Regions from separate parts of the Homo sapiens genome. Here all the other regions are linked to region 3. The links are contacts of gene promoters, found by promoter capture Hi-C in human tissues and cell types (Jung and others, 2019). All regions are on one chromosome and are shown on one strand. The core of a region is centred on a gene start or on the middle of the fragment in contact, and the rest is flanking DNA. Distances in the headings are between cores, read along the strand shown. Region 1 has its middle 160 kb from the start of LINC02040. Region 2 has its middle 130 kb from the start of LINC02040. Region 3 holds the start of ADAMTS9 (ADAM metallopeptidase with thrombospondin type 1 motif 9). Region 4 overlaps ADAMTS9-AS2 (ADAMTS9 antisense RNA 2).

The links. Contacts are between HindIII fragments. The study calls those that stand out against the background at their distance.
Region 1: a fragment that was not itself captured here is called in contact with the fragment with the promoter of ADAMTS9 in region 3 in 1 of the 25 tissues and cell types used here (H1 embryonic stem cells).
Region 2: a fragment that was not itself captured here is called in contact with the fragment with the promoter of ADAMTS9 in region 3 in 1 of the 25 tissues and cell types used here (H1 embryonic stem cells).
Region 4: a fragment that was not itself captured here is called in contact with the fragment with the promoter of ADAMTS9 in region 3 in 1 of the 25 tissues and cell types used here (heart left ventricle).

Annotation. Positions count from the first base shown.
Region 1 is chr3:65,011,960-65,017,321 of GRCh38, forward strand. No RefSeq gene overlaps it. Among named protein-coding and RNA genes, the nearest start is that of LINC02040, 160 kb to the right of the region's middle. The HindIII fragment of the contact is 4,541 bases long and covers 1,582-5,362 here.
Region 2 is chr3:65,044,716-65,050,160 of GRCh38, forward strand. No RefSeq gene overlaps it. Among named protein-coding and RNA genes, the nearest start is that of LINC02040, 130 kb to the right of the region's middle. The HindIII fragment of the contact is 3,128 bases long and covers 1-2,924 here.
Region 3 is chr3:64,685,939-64,691,658 of GRCh38, forward strand. It overlaps ADAMTS9 (ADAM metallopeptidase with thrombospondin type 1 motif 9), which reads right to left and starts at 2,062. Exons shown (of 40, transcript NM_182920.2): 1 at 1,605-2,062; 2 at 630-1,030. The coding sequence starts at 1,719. The region is part of intron 1 of ADAMTS9-AS2 (ADAMTS9 antisense RNA 2); the gene reads left to right. The HindIII fragment of the contact is 6,670 bases long and covers 1-5,344 here.
Region 4 is chr3:64,957,756-64,963,750 of GRCh38, forward strand. All of the region lies in intron 4 of ADAMTS9-AS2 (ADAMTS9 antisense RNA 2), which reads left to right. All of the region lies in intron 1 of LOC105377124 (a long non-coding RNA gene), which reads right to left. Among named protein-coding and RNA genes, the nearest start is that of LINC02040, 210 kb to the right of the region's middle. RefSeq lists a silencer at 1,426-1,626. The HindIII fragment of the contact is 5,795 bases long and covers 1-4,239 here.

The DNA of each region.
Region 1 (5,362 bases), core at 2,602-5,101, 330 kb after region 3:
GCCTATAATTGCCCTGATTTTTTGCCTGGAGATACTGTCTGAACTGCTACTCTGGAAAGGAAAACTCAGGTGAAACATGGGGCCTCACTAAGTAGAGGAGACAGGGTCAATATTGGGAAAGCTGAAATGACTGGAATTTGCAGGGCAGAATATGGGGAAGGAAGGAGCTATGTAGGGAAAGAGCTCAAGAAATACGCACAAAGGGGTCGGGTGCGGTGGCTCACGCCTGTAATCCCAGCACTTTGGGAGGCCGAGGTGGGCAGGTTACTTGAGGCTAGGAGTTCAAGACCAGCCTGACCAACCTGGTGAAACTCTGTCTCTACTAAAAATACAAAAATTAACCGGGCATGGCCGGATGCGGTGGCTCCTGCCTGTAATCCCAGCACTTTGGGAGGCCGAAGCGGGTGGATCACAAGATCAGGAATTCGAGACCAGCCTGACCAACATGGTGAAACCCTTTCTCTACTAAAAATACAAATATTAGCTGGGTGTGGTGGTGCATGCCTGTAATTCTAGCTACTCAGGAGGCTGAGGCAGGAGAATCGCTTGAACCCAGAAGGCGGAGGTTGCAGTGAGCCAAGACCGTGCCACTACACTCCAGCCTGAGAGACAGAGCAAAACTCCATCTCAAAAAAAAAAAAAAAAAAAAAAAATTAGTCAGGCATGGTGGCAGGCACCTGTAATCCCAGCTACTCATAGGCTGAGGCACAAGAATCACTTGAACCCAGGTGGCAGAAGTCACAGTGAGTGAAGATCGCACCACTGCATTTCCAGCCTGAGTGACAAAGTGAGAGACTGTCTCAAAAATAAAAATAAAAATAAAAGAATATGCAAAGGATGTTCTTGAGTTTTTGGCTGATTATGAAACTATATAGGGTAAGACTCCACAAGTGAAAGAACAGTACTTGGAAAGACAATTACTGAAGAACTATAAACTGAACAACTACCAGATCTCCTCCTGAACTGAAATATATTCAAGTTCCAGCCAAAGTCGAGACACACAATTGAATTTATGCATCATTTAGTAGAGACCCCAAAATATTCATGCCTCAGTAGTAATGCAAAATTGTCCCTACAATAAAAACTACAGTAGCTCCCCCTTATCCATAGTCTTACTTCCTGGAGCTTCAGTTACCCACAGTCAACTTCAGTCCAAAAATATTCAATGGAAAATCTCAGAAATAAGCAATTCATAAATTTTAAATTGTACACTGTTCTGAGTAGCATAACGAAATTTCAAGCCAGCCCACTCTGTCCCACCCAGAACATGAATCATCCCTTTGTCCAGTATATGCTACCCTCCCATTGGTCACTTAGGTTATCAGAATGACTGTGGCAGTATCGCAGTGCTTATACACAAGTAACCGTTGTTTCGTTTAATAACAGCCCCCACATGCAAGAATAGCAATGCTGGCAATTTGGATAAGCCAAAGAGAAGCCACAAAGTACTTCAAGTAAAAATGTGAAAGTTCTTGACTTAACAAGGAAAAAAAAGTCATGCTGAGGCAGCTGAGATCTACAGTAAGAACACATCTTCTATCCTTGGAATTGTGAAGAAGGAAAAAGATATTTGCTAGTTTTGCTGTTGCACCTCAAACTGCAAAAGTTACCACCACGGTTCATGCAAAGTGCTTAGTTAAGATGGAAAAGGAGTTACATTTGTGGGTGCAAGACATGAACAGAGAGGCATTCCAATCAATAGCAATCAGGTTCAGGGGGTACCTTCCTCAGTTTCAGGCATCCACAGGGGGTCTTGGAAAGTATTCCCCATGGAGGGGGGCGGGGAGGGCTACTGTACTCCATACTTGTTCTAATAAAACTTTTTAGAAATCTCAAAAAGATTAAGCTAATCTACATGAAATTTAAATGCTTGCTAGAACAAAGCACAATGCTCTTTAAGGGAGCAAAACTAAATCCAGACAATCAATACTGTAACACAATGTTTAGCAACATGCAATAAAAAAATTACTAGACACACAAGAAATTAAGAAAAAACGTCCTTTCCATGACCAGGAGAAAAATGCATCAACAGAAAGAGACCCAGAAGTGAGAGAGATGATAAAAATTAGTGGACAAGGACTTTCAAACAGCTATCAGTAGTTTAAGTATGTGTATAAAAACATAAATGCAATGAGAGAAATGGGAACTGTAAAAAAGAACTTAGTGAAACTTCTGAAGCAGAAAAATATAATATCCGAAGTGAAAAAATTCACTAGATAGTTGCAATAACAGTTTGATATTGCAGAAGAAAAAGGTCAGTGAGCTTGAATAGAACAGAGAGGAAAGTATAGTCTTTTCAACCATTAGTGCTGTAACAATCAGACTGTATTGAAAAAGACTAACTTTGGTTCCTACCCCTTACCACACGCAAAAAGTAAACTAGACACAGATCACGGAACTAAATGTAAAACCTAAAACAATAAAATTTTATGGCCTGGCCATAATGGATTTCTTAGACCATAAAAAGTACTAACCAAAAAAGACCAAATTGTTAGATTTCCTCAAAAGCAAAAACTTTTGCTACTGACAAAGCACCAATAAAAAATAAGTCAAGTCAAAGATTGAAAGAAAATATTCACAGTGAACATCATAGAGTTGTATCTGGACTATAAGAAGAACTTTTATGACTCAATAATATAAAGACAACTACATTTTTAAGAGGAGCAAAAGATTTGAACATACACTTCACAGAAGAATATAAGGGTCAGTAAACACTAAAAGATACTCAACATCATAGTCACCATAGAAACGCAATTTTAAACCACAATGAGATACCACTACACACCTACTAAAATAGCTAAAATGTAAAAAGGCAGATATTACCAAGATTTGGAGAGGTTTTAGGAGTACTGGAAATGTCATACATGGGTAGTGAGAGTGTAAAATAGTATAAACATCTTAGAACACAATTTGGTAGTTTCTTATAAAGTTAAAGACATGCTTATCATATAACTCACCAACCCCTTTTCTAGGTATCAGCCCAAGAAAAATAAAAAACATATGTCTGCTACACAGACTGCTTGTCTACCTATGTATCAACACTTGTTGAACATAATGTGAATGAATCTCAAAAATATTTTGCTGAGTAAAAGTGCCCAATCCCCAAAAACTACACATCATATGACTCAATTTGTTTGAAGATCTAAAACAGGTAAATCTAGTCTTTATTGATAGAAAATATAATGGCAGCTGGGGTTAGGGTGGGAGGTTGCCTGGGCAGAAACAGAAGGTAATATTTTAGTGAATTGGGAATTTTATGTGTCTTGATTTTGGTGATCATTATACATATGTATGCATATATCAAAACTTAAACTGGACACTTAAAATAGATACATTGATTTTGTCTCATGTAAATTATACTTCAATAAAGTTAATAAGGTGTGCATATTTATACCCTTCTAGGGAAAAGATACTACAGACTTCCACCCGCACATCTTTCATGTCACGCATGTTTTCAATTTTTCTTTTCAGATTTGTGTTATGCTGTCTCTCCTTTCCTACTCCTAGTTTCAGCCCCACTACCACCACCATGCTTCATGACCATCTCAGACAAACAAAATTAGTGACAGTTGTCATGACAGTGAATAACCTCAGAGGTACAAAAAGAAAACTGCACAGACTGTTCCCAACTAGGTGGCAAACCTGTGAAAAGTTTGTAGCATACGAATTGAGATCTACGAATCTATCTATAATCTTCTCACATTAATGCCATGATGCTTCATTTAATTTTTGCTTACACAGATCTCTAACAACTCTATTTTTTTCTTCTGAATAAAAACTAAGAATGTTATCCCAAGTCTGTGCATCCGAATGTCATGGGTGCATGGGTGAAGGAAGGCAGAAAGAAACTTGGAATAAGATTGAACAGCTGTAGTCATGCTTTCATTATTTGAAAGCTTTTTGGACCAAAGATAATACACTGTGGGATTTGTTGCCAAAAACGTCAGATTTTTGGTTCCAGCTCATGGTCCAGAAGCTGAAAGTGTGTCAACTTGGTAATAGTATCCAACAATAATTCAGTTCTATAGTCTTTGTAGAATGATGGACAAAATGAATGTCAACAACATTAAGCAGCCAGAAACCAAAGGTACCTTGTGACCTAGCAGCAAGGAATAAGAGAATCTTAACAGATGTAATTTATAGCATTACTGTTGATGAAGTTAGTAACCTTTAGCAAGGAGACATAGAATCAATAGCAGCCTGGCAGTTTGCAGCTGCAGAAATTTATGTGGGAATTGACCAGGAAGTAAGGTGCAAGAGGAGTTGGCAGAATATTTAAACCAGATGAAAAAATTTTAGGTTAATTATAAAGTGTCCAAAATGTGGAATTAGAATGATTTCTTCAATTTCCTACAAAATGGACCAATGTTTATGAAAGCATCCCAAATGTAAAGAATTATACATTGATAAATGTACAGAAAGAACATTTCGGTGTTTAAACTGTGGCATTGAAAGTGCCAAATGAGAAAATACATTTCAGAAATTCAGTGCATGCACTTACATTTATCAGTGCACCCTCTCTTTCTCTGCTTAGATTTTATGGTGTTATTATTGAGATTCATATAATACAGCCTATTCAATTGGACAATTGGAATATTGTTATACACAGTTAATCAACAGACTCTGTATAAGTGATAAGGCCTCAGAGAAGAAGAATATTAGAGCTCAACTCCAGCACGATGAGTCGTTAACACCCTTGGGAATGTATAGCTGTTAAACAAAACAAGGAGACCATATTGCCCTGTGAATTCAAAGGGATCTAATGGGAATTTCAGAGTAAATTTATTTTAAGGTATGTAGGAAGCCTAATCATTTAAAGTGCTTTTTCTATTCCGAAGCAACTCATCCCACCACATCTTTTCATTTAGTACTGATCAGTTTCCTTAAAAGATTAGAAGGTGAAATGATGCACTCCAAAAAGAGTGATCCTTCTTAATATTTTGCATTTAAAACTCCTTTCACAGCCTCCTACGAATCTGTATTAGCTCTCCTGTCACAACTTAATGTATATCTTTTGGCCTCAGAAAATTTGGGGGTGTTTAGGATGTTTGTTTTACACTAGTAAAACCTATCTAAAAACAAGCAAAGTGCTCACCAAAAATAGAAGGTACCATCAAAGTGACAAAACAATCAGGTAATTGTGGGCAACTTAGATGCTCAAGTCAGCAGGAGACAGGTTTATATCCTCAAACCTCGTATACTGCTGTTCAAAATATTCATTTAAAAAGTGATGGTAAATAAATCCAACTTTTTATAACTTTTTGCTGTTTACTCCCTCACGAGTGTGTCAACTTGAAGTCAGTGATTAATTTTGGAGTCAAGGTCCAAATGCAATTGCACCTGCCTGTAGAAATAACAGTAA
Region 2 (5,445 bases), core at 111-2,610, 360 kb after region 3:
TGAATAAATATAATCCCTTCTTGGTCTTGTATACCAGATATTAATTCCTTTTTTCCTAGGTTAGGATTCTCTACCATAAAATGAACATCCTGAAGTTGAAGGGGATCTTATAAAGACTCTACCTTAGGCACCACAATTTGGTTATGCATGGGCTGAATAAAACCCCAGATGTGTTTTTTGTTATTGTAGTTTATTTAGTTTTCTTTTAGCTAGCATATTCTCTTATATATATATAAACTTACATGTAATTCACATGTGATACAATTCACCCCTTTACAAAGTGTAAAATTCAGTGGTTTTTAGTATATGTACAAGGTTGTGTAACCATCACTACAGTCCATTTTAGAACATTTTTATCACTCCCAAAAGAAACTCTATGCCAGTGAATAGTCACTCCCCATCTACCTTAGCTAAATCCCACAGGCCTAGGAAATGACTAATCTAATTTCTGTCTCTATATATTTGCCTATTCTGGATATTTTACATAAATGAAATCTTACAATGTGTGGGCATTTTTGACTGGTTTCTTTCACTTAACAGCATGTTTTCAAGGTTTATCTATGCTGTAACATGTTATAACTTTTAATGGCCTAATAATATTCCATCATATGGATATACCACATTTTATTTGCCCTTTCTTCAACTGATGGACATTTGGGGGTTTCTCCCCCACTTTTTGGCCATTATGAACGATGCTGCTATAAACATTTATATGTATACAACTTTTTGTGTGAATATGTTTTCATTACTCTTGGGTATACATCTAGGAGTGGAATTGTTAGATCATATAGTAACTCTAAGTTTAAACTTTTGAGGAACTGTCAGACTACTGTTCAAAGCAGCTTCAAAATGTTAAAGTCCCTTTGGTAGTGTATTAGAATCCTGATTTCTCCACATCATCATCAACACGTTATTATTTGTAATTTTTATTATACCCATCTTAATGGGTGTTAAGTGGTAGCTCATTATAATTTTAATTTGCATTTTTCTGATAACTAATAATGTTGAGCATCCTTGCATGTGCTTATTGACATTTTGTATATGTTTTTTGGAGAAATGACTATTTGCATCTTTACCCATTGTTTAATTGGGTTGTCATTTTATTGTTGAGTTGTAAGAGCTCTCTATATGATCTAGGTAAAAGTCACTTATCAGATATATGATTTGCAAATATTTTCTCCCATTTCGTGGGTTGTCTTTTTACCTTCTTGATGGTGTCCTTTAAGTGAGACAGCTTTTAATAATGATTAAGTCCAAGTTATTTATTTTGTTGTTGTTGCTTGTGCTTTTGGTGTCACACCTAAGAATCCATTGCTTAGCAAAGTTACAAAGATTATTTTATTCTAAGAGTTTTGTAGTTTTAATTCTTACCTTTAGATCTGTGACCTATTTTGAGTTCATTTTTGTGTCAGATGTGAGGGAAACGGCCAACTTAATTCTTTTGCAGGCGGACATCAAGTTTCCCAGCATCATTTGTTGAAAAGATTATTCTTACCACCATTTAATTCTTCTGATGCCTTTGTAGAAAATCAGCTGACTATAAATGTGGTGGGTTATTGCCAGACTCTCGTTTCAACTCCACTCATGTATATGTTTATCCTTATGCCAGTACCAGACTGTCTTGATTACTGGCATTGTAGCAAGTGAATCCACTTGCTACATTTTTGTAGCAACAAAATATGAATCCACTAACATTTTTCTCATTTTTTCTAGATTGTTTTAGCTGTTCCGGGTTCCATGAATTTTCATATAAACATTAGGATCACCTTGTCAATATTTGCAAACAAAAAAATAAGCTACTTTGGATCTTGAAAAGGATTGCATTGAATCTATGAATCATTTTGGGGAGTAATGACATCTTAACAATATTAAGTAATTCAATCCATGAACATGGGATGACTTTCTATTTATTTAGGTTATCTGTAATTTCTTTCAACAGTGTTTTATAGCTTTCAGAGTATAAATTTTGTCCTTCTTTCATAAAGTTATTTCTCAGTATTTTACTCTTTTGATGCTATTGTAAATGGATTTAATCTGTTCATGTCAGTTTCAGTTTGTTCACTGCTACAGTGTGCAAATACAGTTGATTTTTGAATATTGATCTGTGTCTTGCAAACTTGCTGAACTCATTTATTAGTTTTAATAGTTTCTTTAGAGTTTTCTATATACAAGATCATGTCATCTGCTAATACAAGTAGTTTTACTTTTCCTTTTTAATTTGGATGTCTTTTATTTCTTTTTCTTGCCTAATATCCTTGACTAGAACCTCAAGTATAAGGTTGAGATAGCATAAGTGGATATTCTTGTCTTGTTTTTGATCTTGGAGGGAAAGCTTTCCATCTTTTACCTTTAGATATATTGTCAGCAGCTGGACGCGGTGGCTTACGCCTGTAATCCCAGCACTTTGGGAGGCTGAGGTGGGCAGATCACTTGAAGTCAGGAGTTCAAGACCAGCCTGGCCAACACGATGAAACCTCATCTCTACTAAAAATAGAAAAAATAGCCAGGCATGGTGGTGCGTGCCTGTAATCCCAGCTACCTGGGTGGCGGACACAGGAGAATCGCTTGAACCCGGGGGACAGAGGTTGCAGTGAGCTGAGATCATGCCATTGCACTCCAGCCTGGGCAACAGTGTAGGACTCTCTGTCTCAAAAAAAATTAAATAAATACATAAATAAACTGTTAGCTGTGGAGTTTTTGTACGTGCCCTTAGTCAGGTAAAGGAAATTTCCTTCTAGTCTTATTGCTTTTGTTATGAAGGGATCTGGAATTTTGTCAAATACTTTTTCTATATCTATCAAAATGCTTATATGTTTTTTGTTCTTGATTCTACTGATATATTATATTAATTGATTTTTAAATGTCCATCCAAACTTGCATTCCTGGGATAAATCTCACATTGTTATGGAATATAACCCCTTTTATATATTATGGAACTCAGTTTGTTAGTATTTGGTTGAATATTTTGTGTCTATATTCGTAAGAAGTATTGGTCTGTAGTTTTCTTGTGATGTCTTTGTCAGATTTTAGTATCAGAGTAACGCTGCCCTCATAGACTGATCTGGGAAATGTTCTTTTCTCTTCTATATTTTGGGAGAATTTGGTGAATAATTGATATTAATTTTTTAAGTTTTGGTAAAATTCACCAGTGTATTCATCTGGTTCTGGCTTTTTTTTTTTTTTTTTTTTTTTTTTTTTTTTGTGGGAACTTTGTTACTCCTGAATTCAATCTCTTTGTGTTTTATGGATCTACTCAGCTCTCCTATTTCTTCTTGAGTAGTTTTGGTACTTTGTATATTTCTAGGAATTTGTCCATTTCATCTGGGTTATCTAAGTTGCTGATATACCATTGTTTATAATATATGTTTGTAATCATTTTTATTCTGTGAAGTTAGTGGTAATAACCCCTCCTCCAATCTTTAATTTAGCAATCAGTGTCTTCTCTCTGTCTCTCTTTTTTTCATGATCAGACTTGCCAAAGGGATCTTGTCAACTTTGTTGCTCTTTAGTAAGAAGCTTGGGCATGCCCACAGTTAAACTGGGATGAGAGTGTTTTTAGTAGGGCTCTCTTTCACTGTCTCTTTTTCTGAACTTTCTGTTAAGCTGTCTGCTTCTGTTGGTATCACACCCAGCTGTTAGGCTCCACTAATTGCTGATTCACTGCTCTATCATTTTTTGGCAATTTCCTGGAGCATAAAGTGCCCCATAGTCTGATGCAAATAAATTCAGGCCCCCTTTGCAAGGGTAGGCTTTAAATCCAGTTTTCGAGGTTTGTTCTGATCCAAGTAAGGCTCTTCTTAGCTTTTTCCCTGGTTCTCTTCAATAAACTAGTTGGTCTATAGTTTAGTTTGTTGTTCTCATGTTGCAACCAGCCTCCTTACCACGAAAAATCTCCAAGTTTTTGAGATCACCCTTAGGCTTGAACTTTCTTTACCACACTTTCTTCCAAATAAAGTCAGTTCCTAAGAGGAAAACTTCAGAACTCTGTTCTTATACCTGTCTCCCTTGGCAAAACATCTGTACCTATTCTGTGGAGCTAGGATTGGGAAGAGCGGCCCATTTCTCTTGAAGAGACACTCCTGCTTTATGAGCAGGACACTGAGTGAGGGAAGCAGCCTCTGGTCTTCTGGACTAGCCTTTGCTGACAGCTGGCCTAAAACCTCTACCTATGAGAGATCTGGGTTGAGTGTCATCTGAGCTATAGTATTCTCAGCTTGCTATAACTGAGTAGATCCTCTGTCCTGTGATTGGCGGCTGAGTAGAGAAAGGGAATCCCCCAACCTCTCATTCACACTTACCTGGAATTTAGCCTCTGTATCACAGAGCACAGGAGAATCAGAAATGCTAAAAACCTGCCCCTCCAGGGAAGATTCTACACCACTTGACTTGGAGCTTAGAGAGGAGGGTACCCTATCTTCTTGGCCACATCTTTTTGGAATGGAGTTTCTTTGAACTGTGGGGCAGGGGAGGGAGGATAGGGAGAGAGTAGGTCATGACTCAAATGCTACAGATGCTCATTGTTCTTAATAAGATTTAGTCGATTTAAAAAAATATTTCATCATCTGCTATATGCCATTATAACAATTTCAGAGACTTTAGCTTCTTAAAAAAATATTTTTTATCAATTATGGTTGTTCCACTGGGCAGAGAGCCACAGAGCTCCTCACATTGTCATTTTGGAAGCAGATTCTAAGTTTGATTTCAAATACCTTTAGTCACAGCAGTTACTATCCAGTTGACCACCTGGCCTACTACACCCTATTATCTTATGACAGGATGCTTCTCATATTCTTTTGTAAAATCCTTTCCAAAATAGCCATGAATCTCCCAACTCTATACTCAGCCCCTGCTTTATTTCTTTAATAGCATACATCCCTTTTTACCTTATATATTTATAGCTTTGTTCATTTTCTGTATTCCCTCTCTAGTATATGAGCTACATGAGAGCAGAAATTTTGCCTCTATCGTTCACCAGTGTATAACCAGAACCCAGAACATACCTGACATTTGTTAAATGTTCAGTATATATTGAATGTACTTTGATTACTATCTCTCCATCTGTGGCTGACACGATGAGTTGTTTTCCAACAGCATTCACTTCTTCTTTAGGAGGCACTAATGACATCCAGAAAAAAAAAAAAAAAAAAAAAAAAACCTTTCCCAGGCACCCTTGCAGCTATATGTAGCCATGTAACCAAATTTTGACCAATGAGTTAAAATGGAAGTATTATGTGGAACATCTAGTGAGCCTCTGCTTTAGTTTCCTGTGGCTGCTATAAGAAATCACCATGAACTTGGTGGTTTAAAACAAAAGAGATTTATTATTTTACAGTTCTAGAGTTCAGAAGTCCAAAATTAGTTTCGCTGGGCTGAAATCAAAGTGTCATCAGGCCATGCTCCCTTTGGAGACTCTAGAGAGGAATTCATCTCCTTGCATTTTCCAGT
Region 3 (5,720 bases), core at 812-3,311:
GGCTCCGCCTTCTCCCCCGCCCCCAGAGCCCTCGGCCCACCCTTCCGTTCCTGGGACGGGACCTGCTCCCTGTCAATCCAGTTCAGCCTCAGGGTTCCTGGCGCGTGAATAAAGGCCCTGAGAGAAAGCGGGGACTCTAGATTACGCACCGCCCTCCACAACACACACTGAAGGAACTCCCAGTGCCTTGGGCAGGGGATCCTCAGCCCCACATCCCCGATGCAAGGCGCACCAATAAGGAGTCTGGTCCGCCCTGCGCTCAGCGGCTCCGCTCCCGGGTGGCCAAGTTTGCTGCAGGGAACCGCAACTCCAGTAACTTTCTCCGAGTTTGGAAACTGACTTCCAGGCCGCCTCGCAGCGTTGGGCAACGCGCCGCTGAACCGAGTCCAAACTCCAGAAAGCTCTGAAACATCCAGAAGCCCCTGGGGGCGGGTGTGTGCGCTCCACGCCAGTGTACTCGCACGCACAGAGCTAGCTACCCAAACCATACGAGTTTCTAGCTGATATTTAACGCCGGAGAGGAGCGGAGCCTCGCCACAGTGAGGGTCTCTAGGCTTAGAGGACAATTAAGTCTTCTAGAAGCGGGCGAGGAGGCGGAAGGGGAGAGGAGGTGGCGCGCGCCCACTTACCATTCCTGAGCAGAGGCTGATGACGGCCGTGTGCTCGGAGTTGGTATTGACATAGCCTTTGTAGAAACAGTGCTTGAGTTCCGCTTCCTCTTCGGAATAAAACTTGGTCTGATTCACCCCGGGCGTCCCGAGGAGGGTGACAGTGAACAGTGGAGCGATAAATCCGGCATTGGCGGTGAGATTAAATAGAAACTGCTGGCCGAAGGCAGAGAGGCGGTAATGCGCCTGGGAGGAGGTAGAGGAGGAAGAGGAGGAGGCGAAGGCAGGCCAGGGGTCAGTGGCAGAGTTAATGCTCCGTCGCGTTCTTTTGAAGTGGACGTTCGTGGGAAAGGGTTCTCCGAGAGCGTTCACTCGGATGGGAGACACGATTTCGTATTCGCTCAGGGTCTCTAATAATTTCACTGCGGAGAGAAGCAGAGGTATATGAACCAATAATTCATTTTTCCTTAAGCTTTAATTTAAAACGAAGGTGGGGACTTTGTTCTGACCTTATTTTCCAGCCCATTCGAGTCAATCCCTTCACCCTTAATCAGTGGACAAATATTTGCTGAGCACCTACTATGTGCCAGTAACAGGACCTGTGCTAGGTGCTGAGGATACACTATTCCGAGCCAGACAATTAACAAGTCAAAATATATATGATTTCAGATATTGATAAATAACCTGAATAAAATAAAACATGACGCTATCTGGTGCCCCCAATTACTAAGTTACTTTAGTTTGCGGCGTGGGAGTGGGGATGGGGATATATCTGGCAACAGCAAGGTAGGGGGGGGTTGCCTAAATTCGTTTCCATAGTGTCCCTCCCTAGCAATTGGTTGGGGATGACCCAAAGAAGGGAGAGGCTGCAAAGCGGGAGATAATTCTTTCTAGGAAAAGGAGAGAAGCCTCCGCTGCGGGGTGCCCCTGCCCAGGAGCGAGGACCGGGAGGCGGCGTCGGGGCCGGCGGGGTCCCGGGGGCCGGAGCCTGGTTACCTTGCCTCGGGTGCAGCCTGTCCTTGCGCACGGCCGCCGCGGCGTCTGGGCTCCCCATCTCGGCCAGGTCCCGCACCAGGAGCGTTAGCAGTGTGGCCCAGGATACAAACTGCATGGTGCTTCCCACCCCTCCCTCCGCTGCCCCCACCCCCCTCCCTCCTGCCCTCCTTGGCTGCGGCGGCGACGCGAGGCAGCGGCCGTGGAGAGCGCGCGGAGCCCGGCGCCCGCCGCCAACTTTTGACTTTAGGAGTCGCTGAGGTCTCGCTGCGAGGGTCCCGTCTGCGCTCGGCTGAGCAACGCCGCCGCCTGCCGAGAGCTGAGCCGCTCGGGCCGCAGGAGGAGCCGGAGGAGCAGGAGGAGGAGGAGGACTGGGGCTCGGCTGCTTGGCCGCATAATGCCCAGCGAGCGGGCAGGAGAAGGCGAGGAACTTGCGCTCCGAGGCGCGCCGGGCGCCCTGTGCTGGCCGGGATAGCTGAGCGGCTTCTTGAATGGGGGGCTGGGGGGGCGGAGGCGGGGGGGCCGCGGGTCCACAGCCTCTCAAATGCCCCCGGTGCACGCCTCTAAGAGGAGGAGAGGGGAGGAGAAAGCGAGACGAACGGGGACCGCCTCCTTCCAGACCATGTCCCCTCCTCGGCCGGCCCGTGCGGGACTCGCAGCCGGAGGCCCTGCCGGCTGCAAGAGGCGGAGGCCAGAGGCGTCACCAGCGCCGGGGCAGCTGTTCCTGGTCCCCGCCACCTCGCTGAAGTGGGGTTTTCTGAGATTCCCTGCCCCGGGGAGGGAAAGCAGGGAAAGTTCTCTCCCTTTCCTGGCGCGCGTGCAGCCACTTCCCCTCTCGTCTTTTTCCTCTCCTCTCCTCTCTCTCCTCCCTTCCGAGTCTCTTTTTCCTCCTCCCCCTTGTCTCTCTGCTGCTGTGCCTCTCGGACTCTGTCCCTTCTCCCCATTTTCCCCTGTGATGTCTGTCTTCTCCCCGCCCCACCGTGTCCCTGTCTGTTTCTCACATTTCTCCTTTTCCTTTCCTTTCTCTTCCGTCCCCATCTCTTGCCACCAGTCCCCATCTTTTGGTTTCTTACAAGTGAAAGTGGCCCAGCGCCGGAGCGCCTTCCCTTCCTACACTTTTTCATTCGGGAAGAGATTTGGCACCTGAGCTCCGCTCTCGATTTAATCACCCCAAGTCAAGAGTTTTAGAAATGGGGTTCTTAATCCTGCAGGTCGGAGTGTGTTTCTAATACGTGGTCTCTTGAAAATTTCGCAAAATATTTAAGCTGTGCTTTCCACCAACCTCTGTCACCATTCATGGAGGGTCCATAGCATTCTGTAGGTCCCCTGCCCCAAAAAAGGTTAAGAACAAATTTTGGCAGCAAGAAGGGGCGGGGACTCTGGCGCCCCTCACTACCAGGGGGTTTAGAGATGGGAGGGGAAGGGGGGATGGAGTGTAAAGTTGTAGATCCCTGTGGGAGGCACCAGTCCCTGGAGGGATTTCTCAATCACTTCCGCTTGCTTTCAGCCTGAGAGATGCTTGGAAAGACTGGGAAAGACTGAAAGCAGGCGCTTCAAGCTACACCTTCGTGTGTGTGTGTGTGTGTGTGTGTGTGTGTGTGTGTGTGAATTGTTCAATCTTGGGTGGTTCAGTGGCGCCTTTTCTTTAACCAGCCCTCAGGAAGATAGAATTTCAAGATAATTTCAAGAGGAAAGACATGACAATATCGTTAAAAATATATAAATATATGACTAATAAATATATATTTGCCCAAGTATCCTAGAACGGGGGTTGAGGTTCTGTTGCGTGGTAGGTTAGCACTCAGGACTAGAAATACCAAAGATTGCCAACACCAGGAACCAAATCGCAATATGCTAGCAATGTCAACTATTCTTGAGATACTAATACATATATTTCTTCTGGTGAAGGGTAAAAATGACTTGGCAAGACGAATTTGCTAAATAATTGTTAACCCAAATTGATAATGTTACCATCGTCTTATTACTGGAATTTCATAATGGATATGTAAAATGTAAGGATGGAAAAATAACATCTGTATTGTGCACAATTAGAGATTTTTAGAGAATGGCATTTAAACCTTGAACCTCCAAATTAATTCACTAAAATACGTTTCTTCTAATACACAATCTTTCTTTTTATTATAACAACATTCCCCACAATCACAGTGTCTGGGAGTTGCTGAAAATTTAGTAAGGAACAGAAAAATATCAAGAAATCAATCTATTGGCTGATTCCTGTGGAAAATATTCCAGTACTTCCATTGTAAAATTACTCAAAAATATAGCACTTTCCAGTATTTCCCATTAAATCTTTTTTTCTCTTTCAGTTCAAATCCTTCCTGACAAAGAGAAGTTAACTAATGGTATAGAAATTACGATATGTAGGGACAGAAGCCTCCTTTGTGTACTCTCTCTCCTTTGCTTTCTTTCTAGGACTTTGCTTGAAGAATGAACTTTGTCTACAGTTTTAAAAAATTGATCCACAAGAGCTGATAGGCCAGAAAGATACAAAATATCTCTTGGTGAACTCCTGAGGTGACCAAGAACCTAGGTTTATGAATTTCTCATCCTTAGTGAGTCTACCCATCTTTTCTTCAGTGTATTAGCTGGCTTCTGCATTTACATCTGTAAAAAAGTCTTAAAGAATCTTAGGAAAATGTCTTTTAAATCGTGAGACATGAAAAAGACAGTTGAGCTAACTAAGCAAGTCAGGCAAAAATCTTTTGTCTGAATAATTACTCTTTGTCTAAATAAGTACTCTTATTCAGTACTTACCATGGGGTAACATATAGCATTTAATTTAATTCTCAAAACAGCTCTTTCAGGAAGTCAGTGTCAGTAATCTCATTTTACCAATAAGGATACCGAGATCTGAATAAGTGAAATAATTTGACCCCCCTCAATCCAGTAAGTGAGAGACACGATTCAAACTCCGTTTCAGTCGTTCAATCCAAGTTCATAACTATTATCATATGTCATGAATAACTGATTAATCAGAAGCACTGCTAGATTTTTGGAGGGTTGCTTTGTGGGAAAATGGCTAAAATCATTCAGAGAATTGCCTCAAGCTTTTATTGCATGTATAACTTTTCTTTAGCTCTCTCTTATTCTTCTCATGCAAAGTATTTAATGAAAATCATGTCAGCGATTTCATTGATATTTCACAGCTTTTCCCTCAGCAGTTAGAAGAGATCTGGCACATAGTAGGTAGTCAATAAGTATTTATTAAGACTAGGCATGGTGGCTCACACCTGTAATCCTAGCACTTTGGAAGGTTGAGGTGGGAGGATTGCATGAGGTCAGTTCAGCGGTTCAAGACCAGCCTTGGCAACATAGCAACCCCTTGTCTCTACAAAAAAAGAGAAAAGAAATAATAAAATGAAATAAAATAAATTGGCCCCTCATAAAAATTTGCTCTGAAAGAAGCAAACCTTTTCAAGGTCACCTGGAGTTAAAGGAGGGACAGTTTTTAGCCCGTTTTCTTCGTGGGACTTTACTGGAATTGAATGGTATTGTAGGTTAAGTGGAAGTATTCATTGGCTGATTCGTCATGAAAATTAGATCCCAGAGGAGTGATGAATGATATTAGTCACTAGGGAGAGATAATCCGGCCAATGGAAATGACAGTGATGACATCACAAATGACTCTGTTTGCCTAATGCCACTGGAAACAGCAGGAAGGAGACTTGAAGCAAAGCCATCAATTTCCACAGAAAGGGGAAACCCACACCCAAATGGTAGGGAGGGCCCAGGAGCCAGAATTCAAGTGAATAGTTTCCTGAGTGGTCAGCAGCGTCAGGTGATTTGGGGAACAGATAAGCCCCTGGTACTTGGTAGCACTGCATTCTGGTCAGTGAATCACCAAGCTGGGACCTGGTGCTGGCTGAGCTCTGTGACCTTGGGCCTAAAGAATCTTAGGGAGATGTGTTTTACATGACAAGAAATGAAAAGGACAATTGTGCTAACTAAATAATTTGGGTTCCAATCTTTTGTCTGAATAATAATAATGAGAATCTTTTCTTGAGTACTTACTATGTACCAGACCATGTGTACTATGTCCTCTCTGATCCGGTTTCCTATTTGCAGACTGCAGCAGGTAGAAACTGTGTTGTCTTTGTT
Region 4 (5,995 bases), core at 92-2,591, 270 kb after region 3:
CTGGGGATACTTTCCATTGCATAAGGCACCTACCCCTAAAGCTTTCATTGTTTCACTCTTAGGCAGTTATGTCATTATTTCACTTACCTCATTGGGGAAATCATTGTTTAACAACCAAATATAAATGGGGAAATAGTCTTCTACTTTATCTTCTCTAGGATAACAGCTTCCCTCCCCCACTTCCCTCCACAGAAGGATTAGTCCCAAATGGGTGATGAATTGCTCTAAACAGTCCAACAATCCCAGAGAGAGAAATGAGAAGAAAAATAACTAGCTGATTACCAATAGGGAACAAATTGGCCACTTGAGAATTCAGTGGCTAGAATGACAAATGAGAAAATGAAAATCCTCATCAAGGGACTAGACTTGCTGATTAGTCCAAGTGCAGATGACCACTTCCCATGCCTCTCCTGCCCTGCTGTGCGATGATTTACATCTGATTGAACATTATTTTTTATTTGGGACCGGATTTCTAAAAGGGTGTTTGGAAAACTTTGAAGTACTTAATTATAACCAGGAGGCATTTGGGGGCTGAGCACTGAAATGGAAGATGCTCTGTGTTGGGCTTATGGAATGTTCATTTAGGGAAGAACCCATGTCTGCCTGGTTTGGTCTGGTTTTTCATTCCATCACCCCTTAAGGCAGCTTTCCAAGGTTTTCTGGACTCTGGAAGAAAATAAAAATGAGAAGCGTATTCTTGGCCGAGGGATCCACATTGAAGGCAGACTCCAGGATTTCAACATGTGGATAGACTGGGCTTTCTGTTAATCATCAATTACTAAAAATAGAAATAATCTGGGACTCCTTTGAAGGGAGACCATTTTTTATGAGACTTCATTTGAACCAATCTGTCAAGGGAAGTTGGGTATATAATGAACAATAGACATTCTTAGTGGTGCTAAGTCATATATGCATGAAGAAATAAAACAGGACTGTCAACCATTATCCTCCAAGTGGACATAGTCACATGAGCTACAGGAATTATGAGGAAAAGGGGAGGTGGAGATTTTGAGTCAGGTGATCAGGATAGGATTCAGAGAGAAAGGGTAATAGGACTCAGGCCTTGAAGGAGGGATAGAGCTATAGTGATTTCTGGGTGGGAATCACTTGAATGAAGAATAGTACTGATTTTTTTTTAAATGATTTGGTACAGAGTAGAATGTGTGTCTTAAGCAAAGCGTTTTTCAGTACAGGAATCTGGAAAGATGAGACAGAACATAAAATTTTACATGTATGAATGGGTCTTTAACACCAGGCAGAGAATTGGGTTTGATTCTAAAAGGACCAGAGGTACATTAAGGATTCTAAGGCAAGTTAGACTTGTTTTAGAGGTCTATTTTCCTCATCTGACAAAAAGAATCAGCAAAACAGCATTCTCTGTAACTTTTCCAACAAGTAAAATCAACATGTAAGACTGCCATTTTGATTCTTCTTTGGTTTGTGGGACCAGTGCTGTGGAAGATAAGAATGAATTAGCACAGTGCCTGGCTCTAGGACTCAACACATATTGTTAAATGCATGAATGAAGCTGAACTATATAGAACCAGAGTACTGTTTCCTAGAACAGATAAAGAAGACCTTATTACCTCAGACCTCTCAAGAGGTATCAATAGAGAATTTGATGGGGGCCCTGGTTGGAAGTTATGTGAACCTGGGCATGTAACTTCACCTTTTTGAGTCTGTATTTCATCATCTGAAAAAGCAAAGGTGAGTTTCATGAATGAGCTTTAATTACAGGAAGATTTTATGTGTATTTTTGGGGAAAGAGATGCCATACATGGCTTGTGTTGGATTCACAGGAGTCCATGATCCAAGATATGGTTAAGAACCACTGGATATTTCTTTTAAACTATAAGAGTCTGTGACTCTGAGACTCCAGGGATGATTTTCCTCCCTGGAAGGACAATTGGAATATCAGACCTCACAGCCCTGCCAATTTTGTTACCTTGTAGGAGGCCTGTGGCTGATTGATTTGACTGAAATGAGGAGGAGAGGATGTTCTTAACTGTCAACCCAGCCTCAGATTCCTCAGCAATTTAAGAACTATTATTGATCTGATCAGCCATTCTGGAACATAATTGACCATTGAAAGAGGCAAATCATTGAAAGGCAGCTGTTCCCAACAGAACATGACACTGGCAACATGGTAGCCTCTGACACAGCCCTTTCTGTAGAATGTTTCCTCTCTCTTCTTCCTTTTTTCAAGTGGGCATGTTCATAGTGGACTCTGTCATAAGGTTATCAGAAAGAATAACTAGTTAAAGATGGGGAAAGCATTTGGTAAGATGAGATACACTTCTGCTCTTAAGGCTATTCTTCAAAACAATATGCAATGATATTTTTGTTGAATGGATACACTCAGCAGTCACTCTGATTTGGAGACTTGTCAATGATGTAATGCTTGCCAGTTAACATGAGCAGTTATAATGAAAATGTTATAGCCCTAGAAGCTATTGTCAGTATAAAACTCTAGCACAGAAAGCTAGTCCCAGTAATTTATAGTGAGGCAGCACTCTTAATGATTTTTGGCTTCATGCATTAATGAACAGAGATGTAAAGGATAAAGGACTTATAATGTAATAAGGAAAACTCAAGAAAAGATTCAGCTCTAATCAAAATAAATTGTGTTTTTAGATTGATTTTCATAAATTCAACCATTACCCTTTATTTATACCAAAAAGAAATGCATCATGCTAAGCTGATTCCTATCATTCAGAAAAAAAAGGACATTATATTTTTAATATATTTTAATATAATATCCATAAATTGCAAATGTCAACTTACAAGAAAGAAAAACCCATATACAGGCAAGAATAGAGCATCTATTCTTGCTAGGAAGAGAAAAAAGAATTCCTATAAATGTCAGTAAATTCCTTTTCCCTTTTTAAATAGTACTCGTTGTTTAATTGAAGCGTTGATTAGCACCATTAAAAATCCCGCCTAAAGGCCAGGCGTGGTGGCTCATGCTTGTAATCCCAGCACTTTGGAAGGCCAAGGCTGGTGGATCACGAGGTCAGGAGTTCAAGACCAGCCTGGCCAAGATGGTGAAACCCCGTCTCTACTAAAAATACAAAAATTAGTCGGGCATGGTGGCAGGTGCCTGTGATCCCAGCTACGTGGGAGGCTGAGGCAAAGAATTGCTGGAACCCGGGAGGCAGAGGTTGCAGTGAGCCGAGATTGCATGACTACACTCCAGCCTGGGCGAGAGTGAGACTCTGCCTCAAAAAAGGAAAAACAAAAAACAAAAAACAAAACACCCTAAAATAGCAATTTTATGAATAATAGCAATGAAATGTATTATGATTACCTTTGCTTTCTTTCTCCCCCCTCCCAGTTTCTTCTAAATAAATGATGCTTCTTACTCCCCATCAGCCATCTAAAACCAAGAGGACACAATTTCTTCCAAGAAAGTGCATTAAGAGCTCCAATTTACTTCACTTATAAAGTCCTATAGACAGCACTGTCAAATAATGAGTCAAGATCACTATTTAGCACCTAACTATTCTAGTCTTGTTCATATCTTAATGTTCTGTTTTTTCAGCATGAAAGCAGAAACTTCTACTCTATCTGCAATTTTCTTCCTTCCACTGGCAGTGATAATATTTAAAAAGTACTTGGCATCACCCAAATCTGTCTTCCAGTGAAAATCAGAATCCTTCTGATTGTGATTGCTCCCAATTTCCTAGAATTGGAACAGACTAAAATATATGGGTTAACTCTGGAGCCCAGGCTAATGGCACAACATATGGTAGGTTGCAAGTAACACAATGTTTAGCTCAGTCTTCCATGGTATCTGGCAATAGGATGTTACCAATAAAAATTCCTTAAGCTGAAAATTGGCCCAAGTTGCAGTTATTCTGCATGTGCAAGTTGCATCAGACTCTATGGTATAGTCTATGGGGGGGTCCTGTGATTTCCCAAACTGTCTAATCTCTTCCCATATCATTGCTCATGTTCTCAGGAGAGCTGGCTTAATTTGTGTTTAAGATGATATTGATTTGTTATTCTAAAAGCAATTATTGTTTTGGTTTTTGTTGTTGTTAAGAAACCAATCTGATTCTGCTGCAGTAGAATCTGCAATTGCACTGGGGTAGAATTCTTATCACAGTGAGACACCCTGACTGTATAGATGGTAGACCCAAACAAAAACACACAAGGGCATTTACCCGATGTCTTTAGCCATTTAGGTTATAACACACTTACGTGCCAAAAATCACTTTAATTTTCTGGCATTTTCATGGCAAGATTTGTTGTGCATTCATTCTACAGTAGATATTAGTAAATCCTGCATTATGGTTAGCTGTCAGAAAGAGTGGGAATTTTGTGGCGGCTCTTCTTTGGCATCTGACACACAGCACAGTATTTTCACTGGAATCTTCCAAATTATTTTTCTATTTATTGAAATAAGTTCTCACTGCCGAGGCATTACCTCTTGAAAGTTTCATGCTACCCTTAAACGGCTGGACAGAGTGACTGGTTTTCAAATCTTTTTGGCTCCTGGAATGTAGGCTGAACTCTAAGGGATCCTGTGCTCTTCATTCATTCTTCATAATCATACCTCCCTCACCGTGTGGGTCTTTTCCATGTCACAGATAAGGAAACTAAGATTCAGGAAAGTTAACCAGTTATCCACAATGACATACCTAATGTGTGGTCAACCCAAGCTAATTCAATTGATTTGAACCTTTCTATCAGAGTCCCAGGCAGGCTGCACCTCTACATGTCTGACCTTTGGGGGGCTCCCAAAACAGTGATGCAGATTTGCTGAGCTAATATGAGAGAAGAAGGAAACGTTAAACAGTACATCTGTATCATTGCCATGTATGAGCGTGTGTGATGTAGGAGAAGAGATCGTAGTTTCTAGTTCCAGCTGTTACTATATTTCTCTGCTTTTGGGAAGTCACTGTTCATGTCTTTCATTGACTCTTTAGGCAAGAGTGGGTAGGCAATGTATGGTGGCTCACGCCTGTAATCCCAGCACTTTGGGAGGCTAAGGCGGTTGGATCAGGAGGTCAGGAGATTGAGACCATCCTAGCTAACAAGGTGAAACCCTGTCTTTACTAAAAATACAAAAAATTAGCCAGGCGTGGTGGTGGGGGCCTGTAGTCCCAGCTACTCAGGGAGGCTGAGTCAGGAGAATGGCGTGAACCTGGGAGGTGGAGCTTGCAGTGAGCCAAGATCATGCCACTGCACTTGAGCCTGGCGACAGAGCAAGACTCCATCTCCAAAAAAAAAAAAACAAATGGGTAAATGTGTGAGCAGAGTGGTTCAACTGCTATGTTCTTAGGGCTGACACTGAAGGATCCTAACTTGTGTGCTTACATCATAGCCTGGGAAAATGTAGTTTGGGGGTCTCCTTTTCAAGATCCTACTTCTCCATCCTACCTTTAAATTTGAGAATCCAGAGTTTCACCCCAAACCTGCTCTTCTCTAGCACTACCTTCTCTGTGGGTGATCTCACCCTTTCTTTGTTCTTGTTTTAACATCTCTTGTATGATATTAATATAGCCACTCCATCTTGCTTATGGTTGCTGTTTGCATGATATCTTTTTCCATCCTTTTGCTTGCATCCTATTTGTATCTTTGAATCTCAAGTGTGTTTTCTGTAGACAGCATATAGTTGGACCTTGTTATGGTTTTTAATTCAATCCAATTATCTCTAACTTTCAAATGGATTTTGTAATTATTTATGTTTCATGGCGTTATTGATAAGGCTAGATTTACCTCTGCCACTTTGCTTTTGGCTTTCTATGCCTCAATTCTTTTTTGTTTCTCTGTTCCTCCTTTAATGTTTTCCTTTATGATTAATCGATATTTTCTAGTATAACATTTTAATTATTTAATATTTTTTCATAAGGAATTATTTTCTTAGTGTTTCCTCTTGGGCCTATAATATACATCTTAACTTATCAAAATCTACTTCATATTTATACTAACTTAATTCCAGTGAAACATAGAGACTTTACTGCTATTATACAACTCTATTTTCTCCCCA